4 separate regions of the Homo sapiens genome follow, and all the other regions are linked to region 3. The links are contacts of gene promoters, found by promoter capture Hi-C in blood cells and fetal thymus (Javierre and others, 2016). All regions are on one chromosome and are shown on one strand. The core of a region is centred on a gene start or on the middle of the fragment in contact, and the rest is flanking DNA. Distances in the headings are between cores, read along the strand shown.

Evidence for each region. Contacts are between HindIII fragments. The CHiCAGO score rates a contact against its expected background, and 5 or more counts as called.
Region 1: a fragment that was not itself captured here is called in contact with the fragment with the promoter of SLC35G5 in region 3 in 2 of 17 cell types (naive B cells and total B cells); the score reaches 10.1 in naive B cells.
Region 2: a contact is called between a fragment that was not itself captured here and the fragment with the promoter of SLC35G5 in region 3, in 4 of 17 cell types (total B cells, fetal thymus, naive B cells and 1 more). The highest score is 7.5, in total B cells.
Region 4: a contact is called between a fragment that was not itself captured here and the fragment with the promoter of SLC35G5 in region 3, in 1 of 17 cell types (naive B cells). The highest score is 5.5, in naive B cells.

What each region holds. Positions count from the first base shown.
Region 1 is chr8:11,748,569-11,751,508 of GRCh38, reverse strand. GATA4 (GATA binding protein 4) reads right to left here. Exons shown (of 7, transcript NM_001308093.3): 3 at 2,424-2,593; 4 at 1,273-1,398. Among named protein-coding and RNA genes, the nearest start is that of LINC02905, 11 kb to the left of the region's middle. The HindIII fragment of the contact is 705 bases long and covers 1,008-1,712 here.
Region 2 is chr8:11,731,005-11,733,704 of GRCh38, reverse strand. The region is part of intron 2 of GATA4 (GATA binding protein 4); the gene reads right to left. Among named protein-coding and RNA genes, the nearest start is that of SNORA99, 27 kb to the right of the region's middle. The HindIII fragment of the contact is 1,336 bases long and covers 584-1,919 here.
Region 3 is chr8:11,329,602-11,332,301 of GRCh38, reverse strand. SLC35G5 (solute carrier family 35 member G5) reads right to left here and starts at 1,290. Exons shown (of 1, transcript NM_054028.2): 1 at 1-1,290. The coding sequence starts at 1,195. The coding sequence ends at 179. It also overlaps a transcript of MTMR9 not described here. The HindIII fragment of the contact is 5,485 bases long and covers 1-2,700 here.
Region 4 is chr8:11,605,915-11,608,633 of GRCh38, reverse strand. No RefSeq gene overlaps it. Among named protein-coding and RNA genes, the nearest start is that of LINC00208, 31 kb to the right of the region's middle. RefSeq lists a silencer at 2,627-2,719. The HindIII fragment of the contact is 225 bases long and covers 1,155-1,379 here.

The DNA of each region.
Region 1 (2,940 bases), core at 111-2,610, 420 kb before region 3:
GGGGTACACAGCAAAAAGAGTGTCCTTCCAATCCCTTCTCCCCAGGACCCCAGTTTTTCTCCTGGAGGCACCCCATGTACGTATATATGCATACATGTGACCATGTGACCAATCTCTACATATCCTACCAGAGGTGTTCTGTATATGTGGAAGCAACCACCTATAAATTATATTCTTCCTCATATTTATAAAAATAGTGCCATAGTAGGTAGTGTTGGGCACCTTGCCTTTTTGTTAATATTGTATAATGGAGAATGTTCCAATAAAAATTAAAGAGCTTTGTAGAAGCTCCTTGTAATTCTGGAAATATTAACCCTTTTTCTGATACTGTGTGTATTGGTCTTTACTTTCCCTAGGTATCATTTCCAGGCACAAACAGTAAATATTTACAAAATCAAATATATCTAACTATTCTTATATGGCTAAAAAGTTTTAAAATCTTGTTTAAGAAGTTCTCCCATCCCCAAAGTTATATAAATACTTTCCCTTACATTTTCTTCCAGTGTTTTTATTGTCTGATTTTCTTTGCAGTATTTTATTATCTAATATTTTTATTTTTTTGGAGACAGGGTCTCACTTTGTCACTCAGGCTGGAGTGCAGTGGGACAATCAGAGCTCACTGCAGCCTCAAACTCCTGAGCTCAAGCCATCCTCCTACCTCAGACTCCTGAGTAGCTGGGACTAGAGGCATGCACCACCATGCCCAGCTAGATTTTTTTTTTTTTTTTTTTTTTTTTTAGTAGAGACAAAGTTTCACCATGTTGTCCAGGTTGGTTTTGAAATCCTGAGCTCATGCAATCCTTCTGCCTCAGCCTCCCAAAGTGCTGCAATTACAGGCATGAGTCATGATGCCTGGCCTTACTTTTAGTTTATTTCAAAGATGTTTTACATGTAATATCCTTAATTCACCCAAGTTTATTTTTGTTTAAGGTAGGAGGTAGAGGTCATGCTTTCCTTCTGTTTTCCAAATGAACAGCCAATTTTGTCAATACAACTATCCTTAAGCTTCTTATCCACTGAATCGAAACGTCACCTTTGTTACACATCAAACTGCTACATATAAATGTAGCCTGCTCATCTGTAAAACGGAAAATTCACTTATACAATGTAAAGGACGGAAGAGGCCAGCAAAGTAGTTGAAAGCCCCTTCCAAATCTAAGTCTCTTTGTTAAGAAGGAAAAATGAATGCTAGTACAAAGGAAGAAGACAAGGGAGGACTGAGAGATGGGCATCAGAAGGCAAGGATGCCGCATGGGCGCAGGACCCACGTACCCCGTGGAGCTTCATGTAGAGGCCGCAGGCATTGCACACAGGCTCGCCCTCCGCATTGCGGCGCCACAGCGTGGTGGTGGTGGTCTGGCAGTTGGCACAGGAGAGGCCCACTCGGCGGGAGGCGGACTGCAAGACAGGAAACAAATGCTTCATGTCCAAGTAAAAGGTGTGCACTGCCCTTCCACCTCGCGTGTGGCTGCGGAGCTGGGCCTCCCTAACGGGAGGCAGGGCTGGGCCCTAACGACCCTGCATGAGATCTCTGACCTGTGACGGCACCTAACTCTCCTGTCACCTGCGCCACTGCGAGGAATAAATCAGAACAAGGTTTCTGCTGCCCGAGGAGAGCGAACGTGGGCATCGAGACCTGGTTTCCAGTCCTAACCATCATTCACCGTCAGGCGAATAACCAGTGAGCGCCGGGCACTGCCGGCAGGAAAGCTTCTCCTGAGAGGAGAACTGACCGGGGCTGCAGGTGCCGGGGGCAGGCAGAGAGTGAGGAATCACGGTGTCCAAATGGTATCAAAGTCTGAATGGCCCTGGGACCTCAAGAAAGGGAGGCACCAGGTTTATCCCCTCTGTTCTTCCCTCCTTAATATAGTGCAAGCTGGTTGGTGTTGACCAGAATCAAATTATATTAAAAAGGAGCAGGAAGCCAGGAGCCAAGCCCCAGGCCCAAACTCTTCCCTAGCCACGGGGCCCAACACAAGCTGCTTGCACTTCTGGGCTTTGGGATTTATCAACTGATCAACTGAGGTCAGGGTAGAGACCAGCCTCTGAGGTGACCTTCCTTGCAGGGTTGGTGTGGGTGGAGGAGACACTCCAGTCAACACTGGACTGGGAACCAGGAAACCTGGATTCTGGTTCCAGAGTTCTAGATGGGAGACTCAGTACCTGAGTGGCTGTGGGCAAGGCCACTAGCTTTTCTGAGCCTCACTTTCAGTTTCTGTGTGCCGAAGAGGTTGAACTAGACAGCCTGGATCATTCTGGTGGCTCCAGCTAACTCTAAAGTTGTGAGAATTATTATGGGGCTCTCACCCACGTAATCCCCGATGCACACCCTCAAGTTCCAAAATTCAAAACCAGAGGATGTCCCACCAAGGCGAGAGCTCCGCAGCCAGGTGCCCAGAGGAGGCTGCGAGGCACGTGCTTACCAGCCGGCGCTGAGGCTTGATGAGCGGCCGGTTGATGCCGTTCATCTTGTGGTAGAGGCCGCAGGCGTTGCACAGATAGTGACCCGTCCCATCTCGCCTCCAGAGCGGGGTGGACATAGCCCCACAGTTGACACACTCTCTGCCTTCTGAGAAGTCGTCAAACATATCTACTGAGTTGGGGGGAACAGACAAGAAAAGACACAGAGGATTAATTCTTTGTTTATGCCCAGCTCTCACATCTGAGAATCTAGAGCGCACAGAAACAATGCCCTTTCCTTGGAAAGAGAAGACCACCTCGGGCTGCTCTTGCTCTTCCTCACTCTGACTTCAGCCCCTGCTCCCTAATCCCAGACACTGAGAGTTCCCCTGAGCACGAGAAGAGGAAAAAGTTGCAGTGATCACCCACGTCCTGGGCTGGGAGGCGGGACACCTGGATTTCAGTGCAGGTATCACATTCAGAGCCTCCAGCCCTAGGCCTCTCACCTCACACTGAGGTCCACGCAAACCTTGCTCTCTC
Region 2 (2,700 bases), core at 2-2,501, 400 kb before region 3:
AGGGACGCATATCTGTTTAGACATTTTTCCATATCAGCACAGATCTACTTCTCTCTTCGAAGAGGATTTATTAGTTTGGCATTGTTAAGGCACATAACACTTACATTCTACTCCATAATTCTCACAGCTGTTTAGCTGTACATGATATTTGAAAGGATTCAATGCTAATGCCAATCTTTTTATGCCACAGCCTCCCCATTCCTAATACCTTGGCTGCATTTCAGCAAGTAATTTTTCACTGCTACACACAACAGGGCTGCAATGAACATCACTGCTTTAGCTTCCGTGCCAGTGTGTCTCTAGTTTGTTTTGATTTCTGATAAGGCAAGTTCCCCTTTCTTAAGTCTCCTTTTAAAAAATTATCTTGGCTATTCTTGTACAATAACTCTTTCATATAAATTTTATAATCAGCTGGACACGTTGTATTTAAGAAATCTTGCTGGGATGTTTCCTGAGACTGTGTTAAATTTATAGATTTGTTTGAGGGAGTTTGGAATAAAGAATGCTGCCAACTTTTCCAATCCAAGGATCTAGTATCTTTCTCCATTTATTCATGTCTTCTTTTATGCCCTTCAGTAAAGCTTTATAGCTCCCTCCACAGGGAATTTACATTTGTTTAGTGAAGTTGACCAGTATTTTATCTGCAAATAATGAAAACATTGCCGCTTTCTTTCCTATCTCATTCATTTTATTAACAAGGAAATTTACTCCTGGCAACCCTAACCCACATGTGATGGTATTTGGAGGTTGGGCATTTGGGAGGCGAACAGGCAGGAGAGCTGAGAGGTATGGACCAGCTCTCGAAGTCTTTCCCTCCATGTGGTCTGGATTTATATTATATTCGGCAGTTTTCTATAGTTGGGGATATGAGTTATCTCTTAATTTCACTGCAGATAAAAGTTTTACTTGATTTGGGGGGTTCTTTTCATCTGATGTGCTGGTCTTCGGGGAGGAAAGGGAGAAAGCAAACCTTTACTCTGCTAGCCTTCGCAGGAAGTCTCTACCTCCTCTTCAGACCAGACACACATCCTCCTCAAATTCCGTCGGCTCCTCTTCCTCTAGCCTCCAGACTCGGGTTCACCTGACGTGTTCATGAATCTTTATGGCAATCAATCACATCTATCTTGAATTATCTATTTTATCCTTGTTTTGCAATAGCAGTTAGTTTTTTGGTGTTACTTCACGTTTTCTTCCCAACCTCTCTCCTTCTGTTTTGTTTTGTTGCTCTAGCCTCAGAATTCTTTAGCCAAGCAAATCAAACATTTACAAATCAAATATAAAGTAGATGAAACGGAGCTTCTCTGCAATAGGGGCCCCACAGACCCTGCTCTCAGCCTTCCTCCCATCTAAAGCACCTGCACTGAAATCAGTGCCCCTGGAGAATAGTTCGATGACAATACGTCTAGTAGTTCCATCTGCCTTTTTACAAATACATTTCACTTACTTGGCAGACATCTTAGGTAGAGCATGAAGCTGCTACAAAATCTACAGTCTTTTATTACACATGGTTAATAGCTTTAATCCAATCTGATTTGCATTCCAAAGAAATTTTAAAAGTGCATCCACTCCTATATTTTATGAATGTGACTTAAAATTTTAATGCAGATTATAAATATGATAGATTTGCAGATCAAAACTCGGTTGCTTGTAGTACAACATTTAAAAATCACCATTTTCCACCTCCTCACCAAGGATAACCTTCTCCTTAGTGATCAGCCCTGCTGTGATAGCAGGATAACACTGAGGCTTGGGCAAAGAGAAACACTGAAGAGCCAGAAAGGCAATCTTGTAGAACCAATTCTGGATGGCTAGTTCTACCTAATCGTCCATCAATGCTACTTACACCTTTGGCCAAAGAAGCAAATAGAATGAAGTGTTAGGAAAAAGGTTTTCACAATTTACTTTCTACTTACTAAGCTTGTACACTGCCTCTCCATTTTTCTCTTCTTTAAATTGTGATAAAATACATATAAAATTAGCCATCTTAACCATTTTTAAGTGTACAGTTCAGTGATAGTAAATGTGTTCACACTGTTGTGAAACTAATCTCTACAACTGTTTTCATCGTGCAAAACTGAAACTCTGCACCCATTAAACTCTAACTCCCCATCCTCCCGCACCCCGATCCTGGCCCCACCACCTGGCAACCCCTCTTCTGCTTTCTGTCGTCATGAATTTGACGGCTCTGGGGGCCCCACAGAAGTGGGATCATAGAGTGTTTGTCCTTTGGTGACTGGCTTGTTTCACTTAGCGTAATGTCTTCAGGATTCATCTGTTGTAGCAGTGCAAGACTTCCTTTTTAAGGCTGAGTAATACTCCACTGAGCACACAGACCACATTTGTTCATTCATTCATCCACGGATGGACACCTAGGCTACTTCCACCTTTTGGATATTGTGTCTCTCTCTTTTAATCAATAATGCGCTCATTTTTACAAGAAAATAAACATTGGGAATAAATGTAAACTCAAAATACATCAATCAAATGTGGATCACTGTGGTTTTGCTGATCCAGCCAGGAAACTCCTCAAAACCGGGTCTTCATAAGACTCAGTCTTCCAGGAGGAAACTCAGAGGCAGTGGTAGCTGCAATATTATTCTCTTGCTGACCAAGAGTGAACAGATTACAGGTAAGGAAATGAAAAACCAGAAAAGTCAGGACCAAAGGAGAATCCTGCAGCAACAAATGGAGAGGGAAGGA
Region 3 (2,700 bases), core at 41-2,540:
TTGTGATATTTTTATTATAACTGAACATCTCAATATTATAATGTGCTATGGAAGTTAGACTTTCACTCTTTCCTAGGATTTATTATAATTATTTTTTTTCTTTTATTTTTTTTTTGTCTTCAGTCTTTGTCTTTATTTATCCCTGTCCCTCCCAACCCCCGGGCTCCCAAGTTCTATCTCACTCCTCCACCTTCCCTGTCCTCTCACAGCTGAGGTTCCGGGCTGTAATGATGGCAATGCTGCCCAGCACAACCCCTGCCCCCATGATGTCAGAAAGTGCCACAGTCTCATGGAGCATATAATACTGCAGTATAAGGGCCACAACCACCTCGGAATGCAGGACAGCGCACACCAGGGCAGGGTGGGCCTTGGTGACCGCATAGCCCACACATGTGAAGGAGACCAAGGCGAGGATCCCCTCTGCCCCCACACAACTCCAACTCAGGAGGTCACTGGGCAACACGGGGGTCTGCAGCACAAAGAGGCCTGGCACACAGCCCAGCAGCCCCACCAAGCCAGATAGGAAGGCCACTGTTGGGAGGCAGGAGGGAAAGTGCAGAGAACGATAGACCAGAAGCCCCAGGGACAGCGCCAGGCCTCCCAGGAAAGCCTGCACATAGCCCAGGGTGGTGTAGACACCTGTGGTCCCCTCCTGTAGTGTCCAGAGTCCAGGTCCCAGAATGATGATTAGTCCTAGGATGCTGCCCAACAGTCCACACCACTCGTAGCCACCGAGACCCTGGCTCTCAAGGCAGAGGGTGAGGACAGCGGAGCATACGGTGGAAGAACCTTTGCGAACAGTGGCAGCGTTGCCAGCGGGCACCACCTGAACTGCACTGTAGGCACATCCAATGCTGAGGACGTTGAGCAGGGCACAGAAGCAGGCCCAGCCTCGGATGTCAGGAGGTCCCAGAAGGGGGTCGCCACGCAGTTTAAGTAGCAGGGCAATAGGGAGGTGGAAGAGGCATCGACAGATGAGCAGCTCCAGCGAGGGCAGGTTGGAACCCTGGTAAGCCATACGAGAAAGGGGGCCCACGAAGCCAGCAGGCAGGCCCCCACCCAGCAGGGCCACCAGCAGGCCATTGGTGGCACCAGAGGGCTGGCAGCGCTGGTGCCAGCGGAGGCTGGGTGGAGCGGAGGGCGGCGATGGGTGTGTGGAGTCAGGCAGGTTGAAGTAGGGGTGACTGCCAGCCATCTTTCCTTGGACTTTCTCCTCTCCTCCTGGCTCAGGGAGCCTGGGCCCCTCAGAGCTCCAGCCATTGTGACCTCATTGGAGTGCGGGTGGGGTTCTTCCCTGGAACTCTCCTGAGGTGGTAGCACGCCTATTTTCCCGCTGAGTCCAACTCTGCTTCTTTTCTTTCTTTCTTTCTTTCTTTTTTTTTTTTTTAATTGATCATTCTTGGGTGTTTCTCGCAGAGGGGGATTTGGCAGGGTCATAGGACAATAGTGGAGGGAAGGTCAGCAGATAAACAAGTGAACAAAGGTCTCTGGTTTTCCTAGGCAGAGGACCCTGCGGCCTTCCGCAGTGTTTGTGTCCCTGGGTACTTGAGATTAGGGAGTGGTGATGACTCTTAACGAGCATGCTGTCTTCAAGTATCTGTTTAACAAAGCACATCTTGCACCGCCCTTAATCCATTTAACCCTGAGTGGACACAGCACATGCCCCAGAGAGCACAGGGCTGGGGTCAAGGTCACAGATCAACAGTATCCCAAGGCAGAAGAACCCCTCCCAGTACAGAACAAAATGAAGTCTCCCATGTCTACTTCTTTCTACACAGACACAGCAACAATCTGATTTCTCTATCTTTTCCCCACCTTTCCCCCTTTTCTATTCCACAAAACCGCCATCGTCATCATGGCCCGTTCTCAATGAGCTGTTGGGTACACCTCCCAGACGGGGTGGTGGCCGGGCAGAGGGGCTCCTCACTTCCCAGAAGGGGCAGCCGGGCAGAGGCGCCCCCCACCTCCCTCCCAGACGGGGCAGCTGGCCGGGTGGGGGCTGACCCCCCACCTCCCTCCCGGACAGGGCGGCTGGCCGGTGGGGGGCTGACCCTCCACCTCCCTCCCGGACGGGGCGGCTGGCCAGGCCGCGGCTGACCCCCCACCTCCCTCCCGGACGGGGCGGCTGGCCGGGCGGGGGCTGATCCCCGACCTCCCTCCCGGACGGGGCTGCTGGCCGGGCGGGGGCTGACCTCCCACCTCCCTCCCGGATGGGGCGGCTGCCAGGCGGAGACGCTCCTCACTTCCCAGACGGGGCGGCTGCCGGGCGGGGTGCTCCTCACTTCCCAGACGGGGCAGCTGCCAGGCGGAGGGGCTCCTCACTTCTCAGACAGGGCGGCCGGGCAGAGACGCTTCTCACCTCCCAGACGGGGTCGCAGCCGGGCAGAGGCGCTCCCCACATCTCAGATGATGGGCAGCTGGGCAGAGACGCTCCTCACTTCCTAGACGGGATGGCGGCCAGGAAGAGGCGCTCCTCACTTCCCAGACTGGGCAGCCGGGCAGAGGGGCTCCTCACATCCCAGACGATGGGTGGCCAGGCGGAGACGCTCCTCCCTTCCCAGACGGGGTGGCGGCCGGGCAGAGGCTGCAATCTCAGCACTTTGGGAGGCCAAGGCAGGCGGCTGGGAGGTGGAGGTTGTAGCGAGCCGAGATCACGCCACTGCACTCCAGCCTGGGCAACATTGAGCACTGAGTGAACCA
Region 4 (2,719 bases), core at 18-2,517, 280 kb before region 3:
AAGCTGGGTCTCTGGAGTGCTTCTGGGGAGCAGGAGCGGATGCCTCAGGGGATCAGGGGAGCTGGCTTTTAATCCTCAGATGCCAGGACAACTCTCCCAATGTTGGTCCACTTGAGGCAGAAGGACTGAAGGTCCAGTGTCCCCAGGACTCAAATGACCATGGAAGGGGAACTAGGAGAGTGCAAATGTGGCTGTGGCTGCCATGCTCTCTTTATGGTGGCTGCCTTGCCTCTGGATCAGCACTTGGCCACAGCTTGAGCTCAATATTTCATTAAGCAATGTTGTTGCAAACCTCTGCCCTGAAGTCATGTGGTTCTCTCCCTGTTCCTCACCTTCTTCATCTGTAAAAGGAAAGAATTAGACTGGACAGTCACTAGAGCTGCTTCCAGCTCTACTATTCCATGACTTCCACTCTTGCAGAAGTGCAAAACTCCACGTGGATTGGCCACAGTTGAAATTCCAGCTGGTGCTGAGGTTCATTTGGCCATTTTAATTGGAGCAGTAGGGACCAATATTGACCACACCGGAATTTTTATAAACAGTAAAGATAGCACCAGATTTATAAACAATTTAAGCAATCAACCTGATATGTTTTATTATAGAGGCACAGCCAGATTCACGGACAGATAAGAGCCTTTCTCTGACAGTGCGAGGGCACATGCTTAGTGTCTGGGTAGGAGGATGCTGAATTTCTGACGGGAGATGGAGCTAGCCATCATGCTGACACCATTGCAGGGAGGTTGAAAACAATGCTGCCCCCAGCGTGTCTTATCCATGTGCAGGGTGGCTTAGCTGGTTTGGTTATGGATGAATATTTAAGACCCCCAGATTACGGTCTTACAGCTGCAGATTGACCTTACCACAAATTCTGGTTTGCTGGTCCCTAAGTGGGAGCTGTAGGCCCCCTAATTTCCTAAGGGACGATAATAGCACAAATCCACTTCAAACACTTGATCAATAGCGTCTACCAATGGGCCTGGGAATGTGAGATGATAGAAGGGAAAACTACAAAATTAGGAGCCAGAACGCTTGCATGCTCATTCTATCAGTATCCCTCACCAGCTAGGTGACTGGCAAACACAATGATAGACATGCTGTCCTTCTCTGCCCAGCACCTGCCATGAGGTCCTGGATCACTCATCACATCCCAAGCTTGGCCAGCCATTGGTGTAACAGCCACTGTCTCAGGGGGTGGAGTCAATGATTAGCCAACAGGACCATTAGTGCCCTTCCCTGGGATGAATGATATAGGTTCATTCATTGAACCTCATTCATTCAACCTCACTGTTGGCAGTGGGAAGTTCCTACTGGGGTAGCAAAACTGACAATAGGAGTCTAGAGCTGTCATTAATTTCTTTCTCCTCTGTATGGAGAAAGCTTGCCAGCCATAGAAGGCAATAAGGTCAACAGCCAAAGGGAGTGAGAGCCAGGAGATGATGAGACAGAACAAGCTCTGGAAACCTCCTTTGAGTCCCAGTATCACCCAAGGTCCCAAATATTTCACTGTTACTTATCCTGGTCTGAGTTGGGGTGTGTCCCTTGAAACTAAAGGAGATGTGATGCAAAAGCCCACTTTGCTACTAAGGCCTCGTAAAAATATAGGCAGTGATATAGGTGAGTGCTGAGCTCTTCCAGCTCTGGGATTCGATGTTACCTATGAGAAGTGAGAAGTCATTGTTTAGCTCACTTAAAACACTTCCAATGAAACCCAAAAGCCAGGCTTTTTATTCCCTTTAAAATCTTGATATTGAGTTCGATGGGAGGAAGGGTTGGGAGTTCACAGTCGTTGAGTGCTTGCTATGTGTGAGGAGCTGTAGACATGTTTTCTCATTTACTATTCACCATGGCTCTTTGAGGTAGGTGTCAGCTCTCCATTTGGCAGATGAGAAAACTGAGGCTCCGTGAGGTTTTGCAACTTGCCTAAGGCCCTAGAGTTAGTGAGCACCGGAGAGTTTTTGAATCCAGATCTGTCTGATTCCAGCACACTGTCTCCTCTTCCTTATAGGGGATCAGGTTTTTAGCCACAAACGATCCACTCAGCATTGTTATGTTGGTAAGAGGTGGGTCTGCTGAGGAGTGCTCTGGGCTGATTCTTCTAAGTAGCTTATGCTGTTTGACTAATCCTTACAATCATTGTGCAAGATGTTATCCGCACTTCACAAGTGGCAAGAGCAGAGGCTTAAAGAACCAAAATAACGTGCTCCGCTATGAAATGGTTTCAAAGTCCATGCACACTCTGACACCCCTTGGTGTGCTGGCAGGGCCTGAAGATGCCTGGGATTCTTGATCAGCCCAAGATTCCCCCACCCAAGCCATAGCCATGTCCAACCTCTGGAGGTGAGCCCCGAAAGCCTGGCCTGGGGTGGCGTTTGCACCGCTGGAGCTAGGAGACCTGGAAGACAGCTATAGCCCCACCTTTGGCCACTGCTCTTTCATGCCTCATGACGTTGACAATGGTCAGTCATGTAAGCATAACACCTTAAAAATGCCAAGAAAGGCAGTACTTTGGGAAATATGTCCGGAGAGTCGTAGCATTTCTGTCCCTCATGGCCGAAGGGTTAGAACCACCATGACTGCACAAGGTCCTTGAAATCTTAGAGTGTCCTACGAAAGGTGGCTCCAAATGTCACCCCTTGGGATCTGTGGGCTAAAAGCTCAGTCATCCAACGCCTCTTGGCAGAGCTTCCTGTGGAGCTATCCAAGGTCCTGCAACTGCTTT